Regions from separate parts of the Homo sapiens genome. Here regions 1, 2, 3, 4, 5 and 6 are each linked to region 7. Evidence: promoter capture Hi-C in human tissues and cell types (Jung and others, 2019). All regions are on one chromosome and are shown on one strand. Each heading gives the region's core, a stretch centred on a gene start or on the middle of the fragment in contact. The rest is flanking DNA. Distances are from core to core; before and after follow the strand shown.

Region 1 (3,189 bases), core at 90-2,589, 220 kb before region 7:
TAAGTAGCAGAGCCTAGATCTAACTCAAGCAGGCTGGCCCTGAAGCCTGTGCTGTATGCCTCTCCAGGATGATGTTAATGACAATACATGACTCCTCTTATTATTAGGACCACTCAAGATGTTTAAACTCTATTTTTCCACTGTGCTTTCTACCTGTATGTCATTGGCGCTCTGTGCAGAAATAGAGGACATGCCCAGCTAGTGGGGAAATAAGCCAGTAATATCAGAGTCAGATTTCTTCCAGTAATACAAAAGATTTGGCCCCCCGAATTGTCCTTTTATTTATGGTTTATTCAGCCAATGCAGTGGCACACATTTGTCCTTATTTCTGCATAAAATATTCAACAGTGCATGCTCTTCTATACCCTCTACCATCTACATGAGAAGGATGATCCCACCCATCTCTCATGCCAAGATTCTTAATTGCCTTTTAGCATTGCTCTTCCATGGCACTAACCTCGCAAAAACTCATACTTGAGTAAATTCTTCACCCTGCCTATCCTAGTGCCATTAAGAATTGGTGGAAAATGACACAACTATTATGGGACAATTCATAAAAAGCACTCAGCACACTTGCAATCACATGGAGTACACAAGAGAAATTTCAAGCTATTATTATCATTAGTCCATTTTCTTTCACTCTTAATAATGACCATTGTAGATATTCTCTGTTCTCCTCCAGGCAAATGACCCCTGCAACTCCTTCAACTTCTTGTCACTAAACCAACAGGCTAACTTGCATCCATATCTACAATTGTGATTTCCCTCACTTAAAGGGGGAGATGTTCCTTTTCCTACTGTTAACTTTCCATGGGCATTCAACAATTCTGGACCCCTCCTGCCTTTTCAGGACCTCCTTCATTTAATCATTCTTTCCTGTTCCTATAGCTTCAATTATTTTGTTGAAAATATTTTCTACAGTCAGGAGAAAAATGTTCTAGGACTTCACCCCCACTCACCCTTCAACCCATTGAAAACTGGCTTTTAGTCTCTAACACCCCCTTGTAATTGGTCTTACCAAAGCCACCAAATTTTAGACAATGTCATTATGTAATCCAGGAATTATCTTAAAGAAATTCCCCCCAAAATGGAAAACGCGATTATCATAAGACATTCATTGGAAACTCTTTTATGCAAAAAATTAAAAGTAAATGAGATGTCCACAGTTAAGAGAATGTTAAATTACAGTGCATCTACCTGATTGAAAACTATGCAATTTTTAAAATGGATAATTGTAAGTCCATATCGCAACACATAAAAATCCTTCTTCAGCTAACTTTAGTAAGAAGGAACAAAGTTTTTATGAGTACATTGTGATTGCAATAATGGAAGATCGTTTGGATGAAAAACAAAAGGAAGAGAGCCCACGAATATCAAAAATATTGCATTTTAATGTTTGAGTGTTGAAATTATGATTGATATCTTCCCTTGTATTTGCCCAATTTTTTGTAATGTTGTGACATTGTTTTCACAATTTAAAAAAACACCTTTTCATAGACCAGACAATTCCTACATAAGTTATGCCATATCAGTAAACCTGCTAAGTTTTTGCAGCTTTTCTCACATTTAAGGAATATATCGAGGGACTGTTTATCTTTAGCCTTAAGATGGCTGAGGGATAAATAATTTTTTCATTTTCAGCTGATCTCTTAAGCTGCTTCTGTTTGCAGAACACTCTGTTAAGCTTGGAACTCGTCAAAAAGTGAATTGAAGTTGACTTTGATTGGCATAAATACCATATTTATCTTCTCAGATACGTAATCAGGAGACAGCTATCTGGCCACACTTGATTACTAACATATCTAAAGCTAATGTAATATCTAAGTTTATCATCTTGAGTATTAGAGATAAAATCTGAAGCCCTCAGAGACAGCATGCCTTGTTTACCTTGCCCTCATCTTTTACAAAGAGGCTGTAATGCATTTTTTCATTAATTAATATCAGAGCAAATTTAAAGACAAATAAATTACATTCATCACTGTAATTGAATAAGTCTTTTTTAAAAAGTATATGCACCATGCGGAATTAGCAATATTCTGATCAATAAGTAGTTAAGAGGGGTCAAAATGATTGACTACTCTAAATATCACACCAATTAAAAATAAATATACACAAATAAATAAAGTGCTCCTCTGTAACTCGTAGCATTGCCTCCCAGAACATAACTTTTATACCGGCTTACTGTTGCATTCAGCCTTTATCTCCAAGTCTTATTTCATGTATTTTCCAGGGATGGATGGATTATAGGACAAAGTCCCTCTCAGGAGCTCACCTTCCTGAGATATTGTCCTTCCTTTTCTACATACACCTATAAAAAGGAGAATACAAATATTATTTACTACTATTTAAGACCTGTCATTATGATCTGATTTTATAAAACAAATATCAAGTCTAGATTAGTACTGTTTGGGTGTGGTAGACAGTGTTAGGGGTAAACATTGGTAAATCAGCTTTTGCTCTGCAATTTTTCAAATTACATTCACCCAATAAATGTTCTTCCTTATTCCAGCTTCTCCAGTTTGTAGTGTCTCCAGTTCACCCCTACTCCCACAGCACCCCACTGCTATTATGTCTGGAATTGGTGGGTTCTTGGTCTCACCGACTTCAAGAAAGCAGCTGCAGACCCTCGCGGTGAGTGTTACAATTCTTAAGGCGGTGCAGCTGGAGTTGTTCGTTCCTCCCTTGCAGAGTTGTTTATTCCTCCCTGTGGGTTCATGGTCTTGCTGGCCTCAGGAGTGAAGCTGCAGACCTTTGCAGGGAGTGTTACAGCTTATAACGGTAGTGCAGCCCCAAAGAGTGAGCAGCAGCAAGATTTATTGCAAAGACCTAAAGAACAAAGTTTCCACAATGTGGAAAGGAACCGGAACAGGTTTCCCCTTCTGGCTTGGGCAGCCTTTTATTCCCTTATCTGGCCCCACCCACATCCTGCTGATTGGTCCATTTTACAGAGACCTGGTTGGTCCATTTTACAGAGAGCTGATTGGTCTGTTTTGACAGGGTGCTGATTGGTGTGTTTACAATCCCTGAGCTAGACACAAAAGTTCTCCAAGTCCCCACTAGATTAGCTAGATACAGAGTACTGATTGGTGTATTTACAAACCCTGAGCTAGACACAGAGTGCTGATTGGTGCATATATAAACCTGGAGTTAGACACAGAGTGCCAATTGGTGTATTCACAATCCCTTAGC
Region 2 (3,275 bases), core at 762-3,261, 180 kb before region 7:
CTGCCTAAGATCTCTGCCACACTGTAGAGTGGAACGAACTACAAGGAGCAAGCGAGAAACCAGGAAACAGGGCATCACTGTGGTTTCTTCCTAAGGTTCATTTTTCTGCACTGAAATAAAAGCAGCCCAAACAGCTCTAATGTTGATGGGCTTCAGGGGTTGCACATGCCCCTAGAATTATATGCAAAAATTGTGGGCTAGTAAATGTGTACATTTTAATGGGACTAACATTCGCAGTTTCTACAAAACATCTAGATTGTCTTGTGGCATAAAAAAAAAAAAGAAAAAATATATGAACTTATGATCCCATGAGCTAGGAGTTGGAGGAGATGCTTTTATCACGGATCAAAATGGTAAAAATGTTTAATATGTCCTTCTGTTCCTAGAGTTGCAGAAATAAAATACCATTCTATGTTAATGGCAGTCACAGCTATGGCCCCCAGAAAGGTGTTCTTAAGAAAATAGACACATGCCAGAAATATGAATAATGCACTAAAATGTTAATGTAGATCATTAAACCATTTTCTGCAGAGTGAAAGCTTCCTTCTGGCATCCCCTCTTAAATCACAGAAGCATAAATCATGGAGTCGAAAGAGCCCTTGGAAACTGTCCACTTGCCCCACACACACCCTCATTTCACCATCATTTAGACAGAAGCTCACCTTCACTATCTCTTCCACCCCTCCCATTCCCCCTACAAAGACTTCAAAGAATCAAGAAGTCATTGCCTTCTGTTTTTGCTTGTTTATTTCTTAAAAATCTAATTAATAGAAATCTCTTTCTTTTTTTAACATTTTTACCTTCATTTTTAATATAATTTGTTTACTTGTGGATTTACATCATTTAATTTTTTGCAATTTTAAAAAATTGTATTCTTTTTTTTTTTTTTTTTTTTTTTTTTTTTGAGATGGAGTCTTGCTCTGTCGCCCAGGCTGGAGTGCAGTGGCACGATCTCAGCTCACTGCAAGATCTGCCTCCCAAGTTCATGCCATTCTCCTGCCTCAGCCTCCCGAAAAATTTTATTCTTAATTGATAAATAATCATTGTATTATTTACGGAGTACAATGTGTGGGCTACATGTGTTTACATTGTGAAATGATTAAGCTAAAATATGCCTTTCTTTTTTTTTAGTGGTTCTGCTCTCTAGAACAATAGAAAATACATTGAAACTCACTTATTTAAGACTGTTAATTCTGATTCTTAAGTGTTACTTTCATGGTCTTCTTTCTTCCAAGATAAATACCCCAATTCCCTCAACCAAAGTTTCCATGGCACAGTTCCTAGGTTCATTGTGCCCCCTTCCTCCATAGGCTTTCATCTATCATTTTTAGGCAATATCAACAGATATCCAAAAGATAGGCAATGACAAATGCTGGTGAGGATGTGGAGAAAAGAAAACACCTGTACACTGTTGGTGGGAATGTAAATTAGTACAACTGCTATGAAAAACAGTTTTCAGCTTCCTCAAAAACTTAAAAATGGAGCTACCATATGATCCAGCAATCCCACTGCTGAGCATATACCTAAAAGAAAGAAAATCGGCATATCAAATAGATATCTACATTCCCATGTTTGTTGCAGCACTGCTCACGATAGCTAAGATTTGGAAGCAACCTCAATGTCCATCATCAGATGAATGGATAAAGAAAATGTGGTACATATACACAATGGAGTACTATTCAGCCATAAAAAAGAATGAGATCCTATCATTTGTAACATGGATGGAACTGGAGGTCATTATGTTAAGTTAAATAATCCAGGCACAGAAAGACAAACATTACATGTTCTCACTTATTTGTGGGATCTAAAAATCAAAACAATTGAACTCATGGACATAGAGAGTAGAAGGATGGTTACCTTCTACTACCTTCCCGGAATCTGGTTACTTCCGGGTAGTGGGGGTCTTGGGAGAGAGAAGATGGGGATGGTTAATGGATACAAAAAGATAGTCAGAAAGAATGAATAAGATCTGCTGTTTGATAGCACAAGAGGGGACTATAGTCAATAATAACTAAATTGTACATTTTAAAATAACTGAAAAGTGTAACTGGATTGTTTGTAACACAAAGGATAAATACTTGAGAGGATAGGTACCCCATTCTCTATGATGTGATTATTTCACATTGCATGCTTGTATCAAAACATCTCATGTATCCCATAAATGTATGTACCTACTATGTACCCACAGAAATTTCAAATTAAATTTTTTTGAAAAGATTGACAGATAAGCTGGAGTATAATATGACATTTATACTATGGATTCATTCACTGTACATCTAAGTAACACAGAAGAAGTCACCCGATTGCAAAGTGTACGGCAAACTGTTCTCGATCACAGGTTCTATCACCTAAGCCATGTTAGCTATAAACTCAATGTAATCAACTAGCTTGTGCTTTCTCCTCAATAAGATTTTGTAAGACTTAGAGAAACATGCACAATATGTTTAAGGAAGCAAATTTTGATTCATCAAGGAAGGTGAGAAGTCTGCTCTCTTGTAAGTTAACAAACTGACTCGTATATTATCTGGCAACTAAATACGACACGGAGCCAGATCACTTCAGGGTGCTAGACTTTGGTTTGTTGCTATATCCTAGTTAGAGGGAATCATCACAAAAATGTGAATGAGGCTGGTGGCCTGAACTGCATTAACAGGTTTCTACCGCATTCCTGAAATACAAAAGCATGGTGATATGGTTTAGCTGTGTCCCCACCCAAATCTCATCTTGAATTGTAGTTCCCATAATCCCCACATGTCCTGGGAGGGACCAGATGGAGACAATTGAATCATGGAGGTGGTTTCCCCCATACTGTTCTCGTGGTGGAAAATACATCCCACAAGATCTGATAGTTTTATAAGGGGAAACCCCTTTCGCTTGGCTCTCGTTCTGTCGTCTGCTGCCATGTAAGACATGCTTTTCACCTTCCACCATGACTGTGAGGCCTCCCCAGCCACGTGGAACTGTGAGTCCATTAAACCTATTTTTCTTTATAAATTACCTAGTCTCAGGTATGTCTTTATCAGCAGCAAAGAAACAGACTCACACACGGTATTGTAACTCTATTTGTCTGCCAAAAAGAAGTCAGAGCAAAAGGCAAAGTACTATGTTAAATTCTCATGAAACTTCTACTTAGCCTAATTAATGTGAGAAACCGGTCCGTCTCATTTGTTCAGATTCCTTTATGGGGGTTGGAGATGGGCCATTCATGGGAGATAGAGCCATGATAGAAGCCCTGAGGCCACTGAATGTCCACATGAAGGGAAGTCAGAAGATCA
Region 3 (3,179 bases), core at 618-3,117, 140 kb after region 7:
TTATGTCAGTCAGTGTGGATTCTGGGCCTCTGGTCGCACTCCCTCTAGTGAAATTCAAGGCTGTATAGACACACACAAAACAAGAAACTTCCAAATTTTAAAGAAATGTGAATAATTGGCATACATTTAGTATAAAGGGATTTTGTGAGTGATTAGATTCTTTACCTTTTCTCTAATTCCCAATCCATCTAAACTTGTCCTGCAGAAAAGTACACCTATAAAACAAATTTGACCAAAAAAAAAAAAAAAACAGAATCTGACCTGAAACCCTTCAGTTTATAGGTAGCTTCCAAAGCTACAGAGACGAGGTTTCCAAAATTTTTCTATTAACTGATTTTTTTTTGTTTTACTTGTTTTACTTGGCTCACTAACCAGATATATTTACTCCTAAGATAAATTTATAGCAATGGGTACTTCTGTATAATCAAGGCAAATAAATTAAGAGAGAGGATTAAGTAGTTTTTGATACTTATTTCGTGTAATTATATGGGAATCTGAGTTGATGACTTTGCACTTCATTTCTACCATGTGGCAGTAGGTAGCACTTTAATTCGCAGTGTCCGAAAAGCTCCATTAATAATTGTGCAAAGAGATAAGCCATAGGGTATTTGATTTTGTTACTTCTTCCTACAATAAAAGGAAGTATCTTTCTGGAAGAGCAGGTCTAAGTCTGTGCTGGTGAACAGAATCATGGGCAAGAGATGAATATATGATCCAAGGCAGATTCAACAGATTTAGTGACATCAGCCCACAAAATTTAGACGGTCTGAATCCCGTAACATAAAAGAAATGTGTCGGGAGGATGGGAGGGTCATTTAACAGAGCCACAATTTATTCTCAAGAAGGAAGGAATTCATTGCAGCACATAAACCTCTATGCAAATAAGAGCAATATAGTGTCTAAGGACACTGAGGATTAAGAATAATGATTCATTTCAACTTTAGGTCCAGAGACAATCCTGAGGCTGCCGGGGACATCTTCAAAAATGCCTCCTAAGCACATCTTATGTGAAATTTATCATGAGGAGAAATGGTCACGGGGGTGTGGGTGGGGTGGGGAATCTGGAGAAGAAGGGGCTGTAGCAGAAGAGAAAACAAATGATTCTCTCTAAGAGAAAAAGCTGCCTCTTCACTATATCATACAGAGAAAGTTTGGTCTGAACCTTGATTAGAAAGGGTGCCTTATGCCAAGTAAATTATGCTAATACCAGGGAAGCTGAATAGGTTTTACCTCCTATTGATAAGTATTGCCTAGTATGTAGTATTGAATGATTCAAAAGCCCTGAAATTATGGTTGATTACCTATGTCTAGTAAAGGCTCAAGAATGAAAGACACGGTTATTTCTGAGTCAGAAGAATCCCTACCTTCTTCTGATTCAGCAAGTATTCTTAAAGTGCTCTAGAAATTGTACCAATAGCCAAAGTGAGGTGCCCTCATACCTAACTGCTTTCTACAGCCCCCTACTTCCCTCAGAGATAAAGTGGCATCTTCATTTTGGTATATGCATTTGCTCTCTGTCAATTAGGCTCCAAGAATGTTTATTTCATCATACCTGGCTGCTTAATGTGGCCACTAGGAAATAGCTTAAAATAACTGTTGAAAACACTGGATTTTCATTCTCTCCTGAAATTTCACTGCTATATCGGTTTATTAGCTATCGAATATATCAGAAGCCATCAAATTTATCAATAATGAATTTGTTCAAATTTAGCTTAAACGAAGAATCAAAAATCAAATCCACTTGGAAACACATACGTGTGTCTTTATGTGTATAAAAAGGTGAAGACATGTGTGCATGTGTGTGTCTGTGTGTGTGTGTGAATTGGCAGCATGCATAAGCCTACTGAATCTTCTCCATCATTTTATTTTTTTCTTTTACCTACACCCTTTACAAAGGAATCTTCAGGATAACTGTTTCCAATTGTGCTACTATAAATTGATACTCACTAGTATATGTCCTCCCAAGTGGCATGTCTCTACAAAAAGACAGAAGTTGCCCTAAAAGGACAGGTTTCACAGATTAAGCTTCTATCCAGAACTACATTGCCCAATCCACATGTCACTATTTAAATAATTTAAATTTAAATGAATTTAAATTAAATAAAATTTCAAATTCAGTTCTTCAGTCACACTAGCTATATTTCTAGTGTTCATTAGGCACATGCAGCTTGCAGCTACCATATTGGAAAGCAAAGAGAACATTTCAACATCACAAGGAGTTCTGTCGGAGAAAAAGAGGAAGGAGAAGAGAGAGATTTTAAAATAATGAATAGGCTTGGGTAGATTGAATCAGACTTCTAATACAAAGCCTACAGCACTAAAAAAAGGGTGGCAGAAGAGGCACATCTCTGAAGCTGAAAAGAGTTAAATTGAGACCAGTTTCATTGGTAAGCAGCAAAATGTAAATATAGAGAACTTTACAACCGAAGGTAGTAGATAAAATGATTTTGGAAATTTATAGAAAGTCATAGATTGATAGTCAGTTGGGCTCTCTTGAAACCAAAAACACATGTCCATGTGCTATGTTAATAGAAATCTTTGAAGGAGCTATGACTTTACTTTTTAGTTATATCCAAAACTTCTATTCCATTTAGAATACCACAATTCAAATAAATATAAAATGATTTCCGATACTTTCACATTAAATTGTTCTTTAGTATTATGGGATCAAAATGAGGGTTAAGAGCATATCATGAGCAAATACCACATCATTGAATATTTATAAGCACTTGCAATGTATACAGAATTGTGCTGGTTTCTTTAAGAGGTAGCAGTTTAACAAAAGGCTGTCTTTATACTCAAGTGAATGTCATTAACAGAATAACTCAAGTTTGAGAGGGGCAGACAGTTAAAATATATGCCAGTCTGATTAATATGTAGTGATAAGAAGAATGCTAATATCTGAAATATTAACATGGCCTTTGTTAAAATAGTTCTATGCATACAACAAATGTATTTACAAACAGTGAAAATGAATTATGTCAAGAAAGTCAGTAGGTTTATTTTTGCCATGTACTGTAATTTTTTTCCCAAATTTGTCACCACTGTTATTGCAAGAAGAGGCACAAAACTGAAACACTGGCTCATCAATGTTTCTGAAATAAATGGAAAATTAATTATAGAATAGTATTACAGTCATTGTCAGTGAAGTCTTTGATTTAGGATCATACCTGAAATAA
Region 4 (3,649 bases), core at 950-3,449, 200 kb before region 7:
AGACAAATACCCCTACAAACATAGACACAAAACTTCTTAATTAAATATTGGCAAATCAAATCCAGGAATATATTTTAAAATATTAAAAAATAATATATAATGGAATAATATATGTAATATATTATATAATGGATAATATATAATGGAAAAATGCAAGGTTGGTTTAATTTTTGAAAATCAACAAATATAACTTATAGATATAATTTATTACATCTACAGATTAAAAGGGAAAATATTATATAATATAGATGCTGAAAAAGCATTTGACAAAATCCAATTTCCATTTAGAATTAAAAAAAAAAAACTTCACAGCAAACTAGGAATAGAAGAAAATCTTCAGCCTGATAAAAGTCATCTATACAGAACCTACACTCCCTGTCATATTTAATGATTAAATTTTGAAAGCTTTCTCTCTATTATCTGGAATAAGACGGGAATGCTTTCTCTCACAACTTTTATTTAGTGTTGTACTGGAAGCCCTAAGTGAGTGCAATATGGTAGTAAATTAAATTCATGGTTTAAAATTGGAAAGAATGAAAGAAAACTGTCTTTATTTAAAGATAGCATGATTATGTAGGATGATATGAAGAATTTGTAAAAAATTGCCACAACTATTAAGTAAATTTAACAAAGTCATAAGATATAAAGTTAATGAAAAAAATCGATTACATTTCTTTATACTAACAATAAAGAATTGGATAATGAAATTAAAATTACTGTATAATAATATTTACAATTGCTCACCAAAATATAAAATACTCAGTATAAGTTTAACAAAAGATATGTAGTATCTCTGAATGAAAACTCTGAAATATTGCTGACAGAAATCTTAAAAGGCTTAGAAATGTAATTATACCAAAATTAAAATTACTGTATAATAACATTTACAGTTGCTCACCAAAATATGGAACACTCAGGATAAGTTTAACAAAAGACATATAGTATCTCTGAATGAAAACTATAAGATATTGCTTAGAGAAATTTTAAAGGGCTTAGAAATGTAGAGATACACCATATTTAAGGATTTGGAAAACTCAATATGCCAGAATGTCAATTGTCACCAAATTCACCTATAGATTCAATGCACTTCTGAGCAAAATTCCAGCAAAAAACTTCCTGTAGATATGGACAATCCTATTTTTAAATTTTTCTGGAAATGCAAAGAACCTAAAATAACCAAATTTATCTTAGAAAAGATGGATGATATAGGAAGAATACCTGCCTTCAAGACTTACTTTAAAGTTATAGAAATAAAAGGAGTATGACACTGGCAAAATAACAGAAGTATATCAATAGAACACAATAGAGACTCCGGAAATAAACCCATACATATATGGTAAAATGATATACACTAACAGAGCCCCAACAATTCAATAGGGAAATAAAAGTATTTTAACAAACAGTTTTGAAAAATATCCATATATTCACACTGACCTCACACCATCCACAAAAATTAATTTTATATATATCTTGGAGCTAAATGTAAAACTAAATCTATACAGCTTTCAGAAAATAAAATATAGAGAATTTTTTATAATTTGGGAGTAGGCAAAGATTTCACAGAGAAGAAACAGAAAACACTAATGATGAAAGAAATGATAAATTTGAATTCATCAAAATTTAAAACTTCTGCTCATCGAAAGAAACAAAACATTGAGAAAATATATATACTGTATGAGTCAAAATATTTGTGTCCTATATATCTAATTTATCTCTAGAATATACAAAGAACTAACTCCTACAACTCATTAATAACATGAAAAACAACTTCTCCACCAAAGAAATGGAAAAATGACTTGAACAGACACTTCACAAAATAAGATATGTGAATTGCACATATATGCGTGAAACAGTAATCAATATCCTTTGCCATCATTGAAATTCAAATTAATGAGATATCATTATAGTGTTATTAGAAGTTAAACAGAAAAGACAACATTAAATCCTGGTGAAGATATGGAACAATCAGAGTCCTATTTCCAATGGGAAGGTAAAACAGTAAAATCTCTTTGGAAATCTAGTACTTTCTTAAAATGTTAGAAGTACATCTACCCTAAGAACCAACACTTCTACTCTTGCATATGTATCTAGACAAATGAAAAAATACAACCGCAAAAAGCTTTGTATAGGAATATTTTTAGCAGCTTCTGTTTCTGTTATAATAACCCCAAACTGGAAACAGCCTGATTTCCTTAAATAGAACTGAAAATTCTGTGGCATATTCATACAATGGAATACTACTCAGCAATAAAAATGAACAAATTAAAAACATGAGCAATTACAAATATGAGCAATTACATGGATAAGTCTCACAAACATTTTGCTGAGTGAACAAAAGCCTCATATAAAAGAGTTCATACTATGATTCTATCTACAGAAAGATCTAGAATAGGCAAAACTACACTATGATGATAAGAATTAGACCAGTGAGGCTGGGCGCGGTGGCTCACGCCTGTAATCCCAGCACTTTGGGAGGCTGAGGCGGGCGCATCACGAGGTCAGGAGATCGAGACCATCCTGGCTAACATGGTGAAACCCCGTCTCTACTAAAAATACAAAAAATTAGCCGGGCCTACGCCCGGCGGGCGCCTGTAGTCCCAGCTACTCCAGAGGCTGAGGCAGGAGAATGGCGTGAACCCGGGAGGCGGAGCTTGCAGTGAGCCGAGATTGCGCCACTGCACTCCAGCCTGGGCGACAGAGACAGACTCCGTCTCAAAAAAAAAAAAAAAAAAAAAAAAAAGAATTAGACCAGTGATTGTTTCTGGATGCTGGAGATTAACTGGGAAGGATTATGAGAGAACTGATGGAAATATTTCATTGCTTGATAGTGGTACAAGTTAATGATTATGTGCATTTGTCAACACTCATGAAACCGTACACTTAAGATCAGCACATTTTTTGATATGTAAATTGGACTTCAGTTTAAAAAATTTGTTTGCCTTGTATGATGATCAGTTGGCATTCAACAAAAAAAGTGAGTAAAAACTAATTATAAGAGTGTACATTAGCCTGAAACTTATTGGCTCAAAGAAAATCAATTAGGCTTCTTAGCTTTTTTTTTTTTTTGCATTTACACACCCACTTACATTCAGTTTTTTAAATTAACCATTTAAAATATACATATAATATAAACATATTAAAATAATTCTCAGAAATAGGTTCAAAAAGATTAGAACAAATGATTCCAAGTAGGGTTGAAGTTAAAATGCAGATACTCCAGTCATAGAGATCTAAACAATTATTAAATTTGAGTTTTAAATTTGGTTTTGAAATTCTTGCTCACCCAAATAAAAAGAGAAGAAGCACAGTAAATTATATAACCCTCAATATTTAGCTTTAAAATGTCTAGTTTCACAGAGGGATAAAAGCTTTTTCTAGCGCTTAATCTTGTAAAATGAAGGAAAAAGGACAAGAAGATGAAGACTCCTGTGGCTTGTAAGATACTTATCACTAAGTTTATGTAGACTTGCTGTAAAATTATGAGACAGGTGAACACAGTAATTTCCCAATAGGGAAAGATAAAAAGCAAATACAACTTGACCGGAGAAAGAAAAGGGAGGTGAAACGAGTTTCAGGAATGCACTGTGAATGTGCAGGAACTCCACCACTTTCAGATTCTGCTTGCCCAAGAACACAGCCAGTCAGGTGT
Region 5 (3,165 bases), core at 212-2,711, 130 kb before region 7:
CTTAACTATCAGATTTCTGTCATCACTGAGTAATAGCTCCCCATCCCCCCTCAAAAACATTTTTAAAACTTGTGAACCTTGTCACCTGCTTTAGCCTAAGCAAAATCTAAGAATGGTAGTCTAGAAGGTTTCCATGGATACAGTCAAATATCTTATACTACTCCAGTTACGTTTCTCTGTTGGGCAAACAATCACACAAGATTTACTTCTCTTCCTAATTGTTCCTCCACAAAGGATGCTGAAGTAAGAGATGACATAACGGTGGCTTGTGTTCCACAGGACTCCCAAATGTTTCTTTTGAAGAGACTGAGTCACCTATTTATATTTGCGGAAGTAACCAAAATTATAAACAAAAGTATCTATCATATACAAGCTAGTAATATTTGTAGGAGTAAAAGCTCCAGAAGGCAGGAACGATCTGTAACATGAAACACCTCATGAGCAAAATGGAATTTTAGGTCATGAGTCCGTAGATTAAAGGCAAAGAGAAAATTTATCAAGGCTTGACCTTAAAAATGTGTTTTCAATTTCCTTCATTCGTAATTTTACACCCACATAATGTGGCAATAACCGTTTTATTCAAATTCTTAATATAGTCATTAAGTATAAGACAATGACACCCTGGATGGGTCAAATGGCATTTGAATAAAGAGATAAGCTTCTTTCCCAAAATCACTACTGAGTTCCTGGTTGAATTTGCCTAAATAATTAGGCTCTTTTCCTTCATAAACAAGTTCTCCACTTCAAAGTCCAAAGTGATTTGAGGAGCTGGTCTTTTCTCCAACAATCCCCAGATTAATAGCATTAGCCTAGAGTGAGCTGGGGGTGCTGTCCAGCACAGATGTCAAATCAGCGTGTCCATAACTTGGTTTCCTTTCCACTTTGCCCTGTAAAATTTGATCGTTGTGGAAGATAAAACTGCTCTTCCAAGGCTTCTGCCCTATCACATGGGACTTTGAGAGGCCATATTTTCATAGATTTTTGATTGACACAACATAGGAAGCTCAGCAACTCTGCCTGGAGGCCACCATGCTCCTTCAGGTAATTTCTAGGACCTCGAGGCCCCTAAGTAATGTGTAAACACTGCCACAACAACAAGCTTGTTACAGATTATGGTACTACCCCTGAAGCAAGACAAGTTTTTCAGTTTGCTACTTTGTTCCTACCCATTGAAAAAATATCTATCTCATATATTTTCCCCCAAATGCATTGAGCATGGCTTAAATTTACATTATCCTTCTAAATAAATTTAACCAAACACAAAGTATCTTCTATTTAAACAAGGATTTCCCCACTCTCATCTATAATTTTCTAATTTTATATTGAGTGTTTCTTTTTTCGGCTTGCCTTCTCCCCATCCCAGCCCATGATTGCCAGCCTCTCTATGAGAGCAAATTGCTCCCCATCTCCTCTGCTTCCCTCCTGTACTTACTACTTCCTACTATCAAGGATTAAAATCTCATCAACAATTGATCAGGAAAGTAAATCCTACTCGAAGGTCTCCAAGTGGTTTTTCTTCAGAAGTACAATGAATTTCCAACGTTAGTCACACTGCAGAGACTAATATAAATATTTATGCAGTGGTTTACTTATAAATGGAGGGTCATGCTTATATTGGTCCTGAGTTTTCTTACAGATAATTAACTGTATCATTGTCTCATTAACTAAATGTACTGTATCAACAAATGCTACCCACTCCAGGAACTAAATAAAATGTTTCATGGATATGAACTTTGCCATAAAAGAAAAGCGTGCAATACTGGGTAAATTAAAATTTTGACCAAAGGGAGAAAAATTTTTTTAAAAAGAAATGTGTAAAAAGTAACAGAATATAGCACTCTATTGTATCCCTTGTGGTTAAAAACAGTTCATAAAAGTATTACACAAAATAGATTTAACAATTTTATATTAGTGAAATAGCTCAAGCCTGTGGGTGGAGAAGTAGGTGGATAATAAAGTTTTTAAAAATCATTCTTTACATCAACAAAGGGTGAAGTCTGTTAATCATTGTGCATGACAACTTTTGTGTGTCTATTTAATTAGATATAAATGAATCACCCTCTTGAGCTATTTCATTTATTATTTGCACTCAATTAAGTGAATTTTGACCAAATGGGTTATAATTACAACAGCCATGCTGAATATAATAGTAAACATTTCCCTTTACTTATTTTCAGAGGAACATAGTGATTTCCTTATGTGAGTATAAATTTGTGTTTCCTCTAGTACACAAACTATGAAAGACACCAATGTCACTGATACCCAGATCCTCACTGGTCCTGTAGAGTATTTTATAATTCTATCAACCAAGTCACTTGAAAGGGACTAAAAGATCTTCTTTCTTTTTTGTCTCAATCATAAATGTACCAGGAACAAGGTTTCTTAATATATTAACGTTCTCAGTCTTCCTTCTTCCTATAAACCATGTCCACTAAAGACAATGTTACTAACAAAGGGCTCTTCCCTTACTGTCTCTCATGTGAATTGTAGTCTTAAGACAATGCTATAAATATACTACTCACCACCCTGGCTTGTCTGTGGAATTATTAGGAATCATTTTGCCCAGTGTTGTCCTTTCAAGCTATCTGACTCCTTCTGTATTAGATATGTCTTCTTTAAACTGCATAGAGTTGAATTTAAAAAAAAAACCAGTTCTACAATTGGAGCATCTCATCTATTTACATTTTGTTGTATTCTAGACTCAATCAAGTCTAACAGGTAGTTATGTGACCCTCTATGTGGGCAGCACAAGCATTTCTGCGTTCTTTAATTCCTTTGCAGAATGAAATGTATTTGTTTATGTGTATTTACATTTTACTTATATATATATGATACAATAAATATAACATTAATATTATTTATATAGGCTATGTTTATTTAGATTAACCCATGGATGTACAATTTGTCTTGCCCTGCATTTCTACCATCACTTTATTTCCTTCTGAAATAATTTTTCTCCTACCTAAAAATACCCTATAGTATTATTTTCAGTGTAGGACTGCAGGTGATAAATCTACTTCAATCTACTTCAACAAATGTAATATTTAAAATGTCTATTTCACCTTCATTGTTTATTTTATTTTATTTTATTTATTTTAAGTTCCAGGGTATATGTGCAGGATGTGCAGGTTTGTTACATAGGTAAACATGTGTCACGATGATTTG
Region 6 (3,214 bases), core at 115-2,614, 160 kb before region 7:
TAGAAGAAACATCTAAATGTTAAGAATAATAATGTTCATTAAGTACCCCCCCAAAATCCGGAAAAACATTCAATGATTCCTATCTTACTCCTTCAATGATAATAAATGTTTACCTAATCAAGGGAAGGCTCTTGGAAGAATGCATGTTTAAAATCCCATTAACAGCAATGCAAGAGAAGAGCCCAAATGATGAACTGTGTACATTTTAAAGTGAAAATTCATACCACAGGAATGCCCACATATCAAACAAATCAATGCAAGCAATCAATCATCTTAATGAAAGCTTATGGTTAGCAGGTATAAATGCCACTGTGATCTCTCACACTTACAAGAAGAAAACTGATTGTGGATATAAACAATTCACTGTGGTTACATATAAATCAACTTCAATAGCAAGAACTAAAAGGAAACATAATTGAACTTCGTTAAACATCTACAGTCTCCTCATTTATCTTTCAAAAATAGAGCACCAGGCACTGTGGCTCATGCCTGTAATCCCAGCACTTCAGGAGGCCGAGGTGAGCAGGTTACCTGAGGTCAGGAGTTTGAGACCAGTCTGGCCATCATTGCAAAACCCATTCTCTACTAAAAGTACAAAAAGTAGCCGGGTGTGGTGGTGCACACCCATAATCCTAGCTACCTGGGAGGCTGAAGCAGGAGAATTGTTTGAATCCGGGAGGTGGAGACTGCAGTGAGCCAAGATTGTGGCACTGTGCTCCAGCCTGGGCAACAGAGCAAGACTCCATCTCAAAAAAAAAAAAAAAATAGAGGAGAGCTAGAGGGATTTTGCTGCCAGTAATTAGACACTTTTCCTCTAAAAACCCATCAACGGCTGTTTCAAACAAAACAATGCCTTCCATTTGAATCACTGAAGTTCAAGGGAAAGGGAAATTAGAATGTAAGCATGGCAGACTGGTTCTTGAGATAGTCAAGTGTCCAAGTTTGAGCCCAAGTTCTAAATCTTTCACATCTAATAGAACAATAATTTATTGAGTGGTTAAGAAGGAATTATCAGTTGCATGAATTGCATGTCTTCTACTAACTCTGATGGGTCATATATAATACTTCTATTGATGTAGACATTGGGTTGCGGCTAGGGCTACACTGACTAACAGTGTGATCTTCATTATGTAAGTGTTCACCTCTTTACTTGGGATAGGTGTGAAATATCATTATCAAATTTAGCTGGGCTAAGTTGTAATCATCAATAAACTCTTTCAGTTACCCTAAACCTGCCATTTTGCAAAACTTACTACAAATACTGGCAATATCATCAATTAAAATTTCAGCTGGTGAATCATACCTGAGGTTTTCTAGTTTTTCACCAATGCTACCTGGTGAGTTCACCCACAAAAGAAAATCAGGAGATATACTCATAACCCCCTATATATGTGGAAGATTCACATGGAATTAACAAAATCATTTTAGCAGCACATTACAATTTAAGCAATCAACTTGGCTGAAGAGTGGGGGGGAATCTATCACACTATAGTTTGATGTTATGCTGATGAAACAATTCATTGACCAATAACTTTTATTTTTATCCAGTTACCTCAGATGTGTTATCTCACTCACTTGATAAGAACTTCTACTTTAAAAATGAATTTTTTACCTTTGGTTTCTGGTGCTCCATCCATTCATATATTTTTATGTCATTTGAAGCACTTTAGTTAAGGTAAAAAATATGGATCAAAACATGAAAAAAATATGTGCTTCATCTATTTAAGTGTGGCATTAACACTTAAATATAGAAATATATTCTATAAATCTACCCTCTGCATCTCCAAGACTATTTTTTGCCTCTTCAATCTCAGTCCACAGACTTTCCATTTATTCCAAGAATAATGAAACTGTCAACCAATTATCTTCTGTTAATGGATGTTCAATTACTTATACAAAGGGCCAAAATAAGCACCAGTTACTACAAAACACTTGTGTGTAATTCAAATCAGAAACAGAGGGACTTTAAAAGTCTCTTAATATGGCAAGGGCAGGAAGTGCTGCACAGACTGAAGGCGCCCCATAAAAATCAGAGGGGATGGAAAGAAGATGCAACCAGAAAGGAAAGAGTAAGATTTCAAAAAGCAGTCTTCATTGAGAAAGCTAAGCTGACAAATACATGAAGATTACAGTTGGCTGCTTTGAGCCCTCTTTCTCTTGGGAATACTTCACTTGGCCCAATATTCCCTAAGGGTTGGTCCTTGAGAAGTAAAATGCCTCAAGGGATGTCTCCAGGCATGAAAGTGATTGTTCTTCTCTATTGAGCCTTATGGCTCCAAAATTGACAACAGTACAAAATGCTTTTTTAAGTAGTCATAATCTCAGCTAGATAAATTTTGTCCAAACAAGAAAAGATGTAACAACAAATGACACAAAAACTTTGCATAGGAGTTAGAAGGCCATGTCAGTTGCCAACAAAAAATTAAGGTTGTAGGTTCAGCTTAAGCAACGGTAACTGAAGATGGCAATCACAGAAATGAAGTCCTCAGACCTGAACCTGTTAGCGGTGGAAGAGATCTGAGTTACCCTGAGTTACAGGCAGCGAATCTGTACATGACTGCAGCAACTTCAGCTCTTGCCTACTCAGAAGAAAGAATTCGACTGAGGAGCATAGAGCGGAAAAAGAGACCCAGGCAAGTTCCAGAGCAGGAATGGAAGTTTATTAAAAAGGCCTTAGAACAAGAAAGAAAGGAAAGATCTCTTGGAAGAGACCCAAGTGGCTACCTGAATGTCAAAGAGAGAAAAAGAAAGCTTTTTACCTTGGACTTTATAGGCTCACTTCTTTCCCATGACTCTTCCCTTAGGGTGGGATTTCTGCAAGCACGGTGCCCTCCTTACCCTGGAGAACTGACCACAGGCAGTGTGTTTATGGAGTTATACACATGCCCATCTGAGGCTCTTTTCTTTTCTGGAAGATCATACTTCACCATTTTTGTCTCTTAACATGCATACACAGGAAGTTGCTTCTCCCTGGGGCCTAGATTCAATTAACATTTTGATGTGGACCATCAGGAAATGGCCTCTCCCTGGCAACAGCTGCCAATTTGTCACTTTTAGAGAGGCAATGTGATCATTGCCAAACCATCATTGACCATTTCTAGTGAGTAGGGGGAAGACCCCTCCCCTGCCCCACTCATGCTTAACTACCTGTAACAATCCCAGCAAGGACAAACAGTTTTTAAACAGCCACAAAAGTAAGAAATGGGTTAAGTCT
Region 7 (3,329 bases), core at 72-2,571:
TCAGGAAGGAAAAAACTACTTGGCAGTGTAGAGCGACCTAATTAACTAAATAACTGCCAATTCTACATTGTACTTTGTGTTACATGACATATCATGAATAAATACCAGTCAAAAATCAAATTATTTGGATACTTAAATGATGATGAGGCCTGCTGTGCCAACAGGTATGCTAATGAGTAGACATCTCCCAGCCTCAAGACTGAGTGAATGAGGCAAATATTTTCACCTCCCAATCTTTTAGGGTGTTCAATTAACTCAAGTATTTAAGAAGTTCCCTACTATTGGGAAGGAAGTAGATGTAATCATCTATATGCTTATTTTGTCAACTGAGTTGGAAAAACTTGCAAAGGAACAGTTTGGATATATGTATTAGATTTTTATCAAAATACAAATAAATGGTCATAGATGACAATTTTCACCTAAGGAATACAAGTAAGTTTATCTATGTTCAGTTACCAATCGCCTCTAACTAAAGTTAACAATGTCTTCCTTCTAAAACCTTTCTAAAGAGCACCCTGCAATCACACCTTCTAGCAACAGCCATTTCTCTTGAATTAGTAAGGTGGCTACACCGCCAATTTGAGCTGTTCTCCTTCAGTCCTGTAGTCCATCGCCAGGGGAGTCTCCAAATGCTAATAAAAATCAATTTCCCAGACAAAAGAACATATACACGTTTTTTTCTTTCTTTCTTTCTTTTTTTTTTTTTTTTAGAAGAGGGTCAGGGAGCATCTGACGGACGTTTTTAAAGGAAGGGGACAGCTACTTCCATGGGACTGCATTTTAGTTGTGCTAAAAGTGATGAAAGTGGGTTTGCATTATTCTACCACCAACACCCAAACCACCTGCCCACGGAAACCCCCGCCGGAGACCGAAGTTTACCCAAATAGCGCTCGGCAAAGCGCTGCCATAAATTCAAAACTAACTCTGCCGGGCCCGCGGGGGTTGCGAGACAGGGACCGAACGTGAAACCCGGGGAGCCCCGCGTCTCTTGCCTCCGAAGGTTTTCCGTGATCAGTGTCCCCTTCTCTGCTGGAGTCGGAAGTGCCTGTCACCTGCGGATCTGCCCGACTCTCCCGGTCGGCCCTTCTTCTCTGCCCAGTTCGGACAGTCTCGAATTCCCCGTCGCAGCCCCGGCCACCTCGGACTCCCTGGTCCCCAGCCCCCGCCCCACCCCCCGCCTCCACCACGTCCCCTCCCCGCGGTCCCAGCCTCTCCAGGCGCTGCTGGGCTCTGATTGGCGGCTGCGCTGACAGCAGGCGGGGCCTGGAAGTCGCGGCCAAGCCCGCCCTCGCGTATAAGCCCCTCTCAGCGCTCTCTCTCCATCTCTCCCCTCTCTTTCTCTCTCGCTGCTCCCTTCCTCCCTGTAACTGAACAGTGAAAATTCACATTGTGGATCCGCTAACAGGCACAGATGTCATGTGAAAACGCACATGCTCTGCCATCCACACCGCCTTTCTTTCTTTTCTTTCTGTTTCCTTTTTTCCCCCTTGTTCCTTCTCCCTCTTCTTTGTAACTAACAAAACCACCACCAACTCCTCCTCCTGCTGCTGCCCTTCCTCCTCCTCCTCAGTCCAAGTGATCACAAAAGAAATCTTCTGAGCCGGAGGCGGTGGCATTTTTTAAAAAGCAAGCACATTGGAGAGAAAGAAAAAGAAAAACAAAACCAAAACAAAACCCAGGCACCAGACAGCCAGAACATTTTTTTTTCACCCTTCCTGAAAACAAACAAACAAACAAACAATCATCAAAACAGTCACCACCAACATCAAAACTGTTAACATAGCGGCGGCGGCGGCAAACGTCACCCTGCAGCCACGGCGTCCGCCTAAAGGGATGGTTTTCTCGGCAGAGCAGCTCTTCGCCGACCACCTTCTTCACTCGTGCTGAGCGGGATTTTTGGGCTCTCCGGGGTTCGGGCTGGGAGCAGCTTCATGACTACGCGGAGCGGGAGAGCGGCCACACCATGCGAGGTAAGCGAGTCTGCGGGCACCGAGGCTCCCCGAGTCCGGCCAACTCCAGCCAGACGGGGAGATGGGGGAGGGGAGGGCACCCAGCAGAAAGGGAAAGAGGTTGCCCAGGCGCAGTTCCCCGAATTCGCTCTCGCAGGTGGGGCTGCAAATGGCCTGGGCGTAGAAAGTTGCGGGAAGGTGTTGATGTCTTTCGGGAGTTCTGGAGGGACGCGGGAGGGCGCTTTTTTGGAGAGGGGAGACAGGCTAGTTGGTTCTTACCAGTCCTTGAGTTGCACTGAATCTTTTTTGCTTGTCGCTCTCGGGTGCGGAAGCGGACGCGGGATGGAGAAAGCCGAAAGAGGGATGCCTCTGGACAGGAGCAGTTTGGAAGCGCCCGGCGCGCAGTGGTCGCCGGCCGGGTTTGGGCGCGCGGGGCGCACCGGCCGGGGGCAGGGTGGACACGCGCGGGCACACACTCGCCAGGTTACGAGGCCCACTAAGCGTCCTGGCCAGCAGGCATGTCCCTTCGCTGGAGTAGCAAGCAGAAGAGCAGTGCTGCGAGGCTGGACGCGGCTGAGGAAACAGTTAGTTCCCCGGCACGCGGCTGAGGAAACAGTTCTGCGGCGCGCGCCTTCGTGCCGGCGCTGCGCCCTGGCCAGGTCCTCGTGCCCGAGCCCGCGCGGCCCAGGGAGTAGTGCGACCCCGGAAAAGTTGTAATGAGAAAGTTCTGGAGGCTTGGAAAGGCCACACTGCTCACAGTCGGAGAGTCATGGGCTCCGGCTCTTTTGTCAGATAAAGGGCCGGTAGTGGAAGGAGGTGCTGGTGCACCCTCGGGCCAGGACCCTCGCAGTCGCAGGCGGTGGCGGCGGCGGCGGCGGGACCCCGGGGCGAGCTGGGGTCTGCAGGGATGCGCGCCAGGGACTGTAGCGTTACGCTTGCTCCGGCTGGACTCTGGGCCTCTCGAAGGGCTGGAGGGTGGGTTTCGGGGAGTCACTTGGTCTCCTCTCCTGCCTTGCCGGAGACCTCAGGTTTCCTTCGCGCTGTGCTCGGCCTTTCTTCACTCTTTTACTGAAGAGCCAGGCGGGTGTCCGCTTGACATGGGGATCTGTGCAAGCTCTGGGCACCCACCCCCACTCCCAGTCCCTCTTCCTGGCCACACAGCGGTTAATCGGGGGCTCTTCTCTATCCTTCGCACGTACCCCTGGGTCTTGACAACAGAAAGTTAGTAACGGCCAGCTCCAGACCTTCTTGCATCCCAGACCCGGAGAGAGGTGGTCTAGGCAGGGAGCACTTGGGAGAGTTGGGATGCAATCACTGGTCTCCTCCTTCCACTGAAAGTGATCCTCTCCCACCCAGTCCCCCTACGCCCCTAGAGGAGCA

The links. Contacts are between HindIII fragments. The study calls those that stand out against the background at their distance.
Region 1: a fragment that was not itself captured here is called in contact with the fragment with the promoter of RORB in region 7 in 2 of the 25 tissues and cell types used here (lymphoblastoid cells and mesendoderm cells).
Region 2: a contact is called between a fragment that was not itself captured here and the fragment with the promoter of RORB in region 7, in 3 of the 25 tissues and cell types used here (H1 embryonic stem cells, dorsolateral prefrontal cortex and mesendoderm cells).
Region 3: a contact is called between a fragment that was not itself captured here and the fragment with the promoter of RORB in region 7, in 2 of the 25 tissues and cell types used here (H1 embryonic stem cells and lymphoblastoid cells).
Region 4: a fragment that was not itself captured here is called in contact with the fragment with the promoter of RORB in region 7 in 4 of the 25 tissues and cell types used here (H1 embryonic stem cells, IMR-90 fibroblasts, dorsolateral prefrontal cortex and 1 more).
Region 5: a fragment that was not itself captured here is called in contact with the fragment with the promoter of RORB in region 7 in 4 of the 25 tissues and cell types used here (hippocampus, mesendoderm cells, spleen and 1 more).
Region 6: a fragment that was not itself captured here is called in contact with the fragment with the promoter of RORB in region 7 in 2 of the 25 tissues and cell types used here (H1 embryonic stem cells and spleen).

Annotation. Positions count from the first base shown.
Region 1 is chr9:74,272,514-74,275,702 of GRCh38, forward strand. It overlaps LOC101927329 (a long non-coding RNA gene), which reads right to left and starts at 2,873. Exons shown (of 5, transcript XR_242624.4): 1 at 2,600-2,873; 2 at 2,273-2,308. The HindIII fragment of the contact is 7,237 bases long and covers 1-3,189 here.
Region 2 is chr9:74,317,780-74,321,054 of GRCh38, forward strand. No RefSeq gene overlaps it. Among named protein-coding and RNA genes, the nearest start is that of RORB, 180 kb to the right of the region's middle. The HindIII fragment of the contact is 9,047 bases long and covers 1-3,275 here.
Region 3 is chr9:74,635,723-74,638,901 of GRCh38, forward strand. The region is part of intron 3 of RORB (RAR related orphan receptor B); the gene reads left to right. Among named protein-coding and RNA genes, the nearest start is that of RORB-AS1, 140 kb to the left of the region's middle. The HindIII fragment of the contact is 3,945 bases long and covers 1-3,179 here.
Region 4 is chr9:74,299,325-74,302,973 of GRCh38, forward strand. No RefSeq gene overlaps it. Among named protein-coding and RNA genes, the nearest start is that of RORB, 200 kb to the right of the region's middle. RefSeq lists a silencer at 3,489-3,649. The HindIII fragment of the contact is 4,874 bases long and covers 1-3,649 here.
Region 5 is chr9:74,361,763-74,364,927 of GRCh38, forward strand. All of the region lies in intron 1 of LOC105376087 (a long non-coding RNA gene), which reads right to left. Among named protein-coding and RNA genes, the nearest start is that of RORB, 130 kb to the right of the region's middle. The HindIII fragment of the contact is 7,043 bases long and covers 1-3,165 here.
Region 6 is chr9:74,336,069-74,339,282 of GRCh38, forward strand. No RefSeq gene overlaps it. Among named protein-coding and RNA genes, the nearest start is that of RORB, 160 kb to the right of the region's middle. The HindIII fragment of the contact is 3,601 bases long and covers 1-3,165 here.
Region 7 is chr9:74,496,014-74,499,342 of GRCh38, forward strand. It overlaps RORB (RAR related orphan receptor B), which reads left to right and starts at 1,322. Exons shown (of 10, transcript NM_006914.4): 1 at 1,322-1,970. The coding sequence starts at 1,964. RORB-AS1 (RORB antisense RNA 1) reads right to left here and starts at 2,540. Exons shown (of 5, transcript NR_125791.1): 1 at 2,229-2,540. RefSeq lists silencers at 958-1,170, 1,166-1,355, 1,260-1,554 and an enhancer at 3,224-3,329. The HindIII fragment of the contact is 7,823 bases long and covers 1-3,329 here.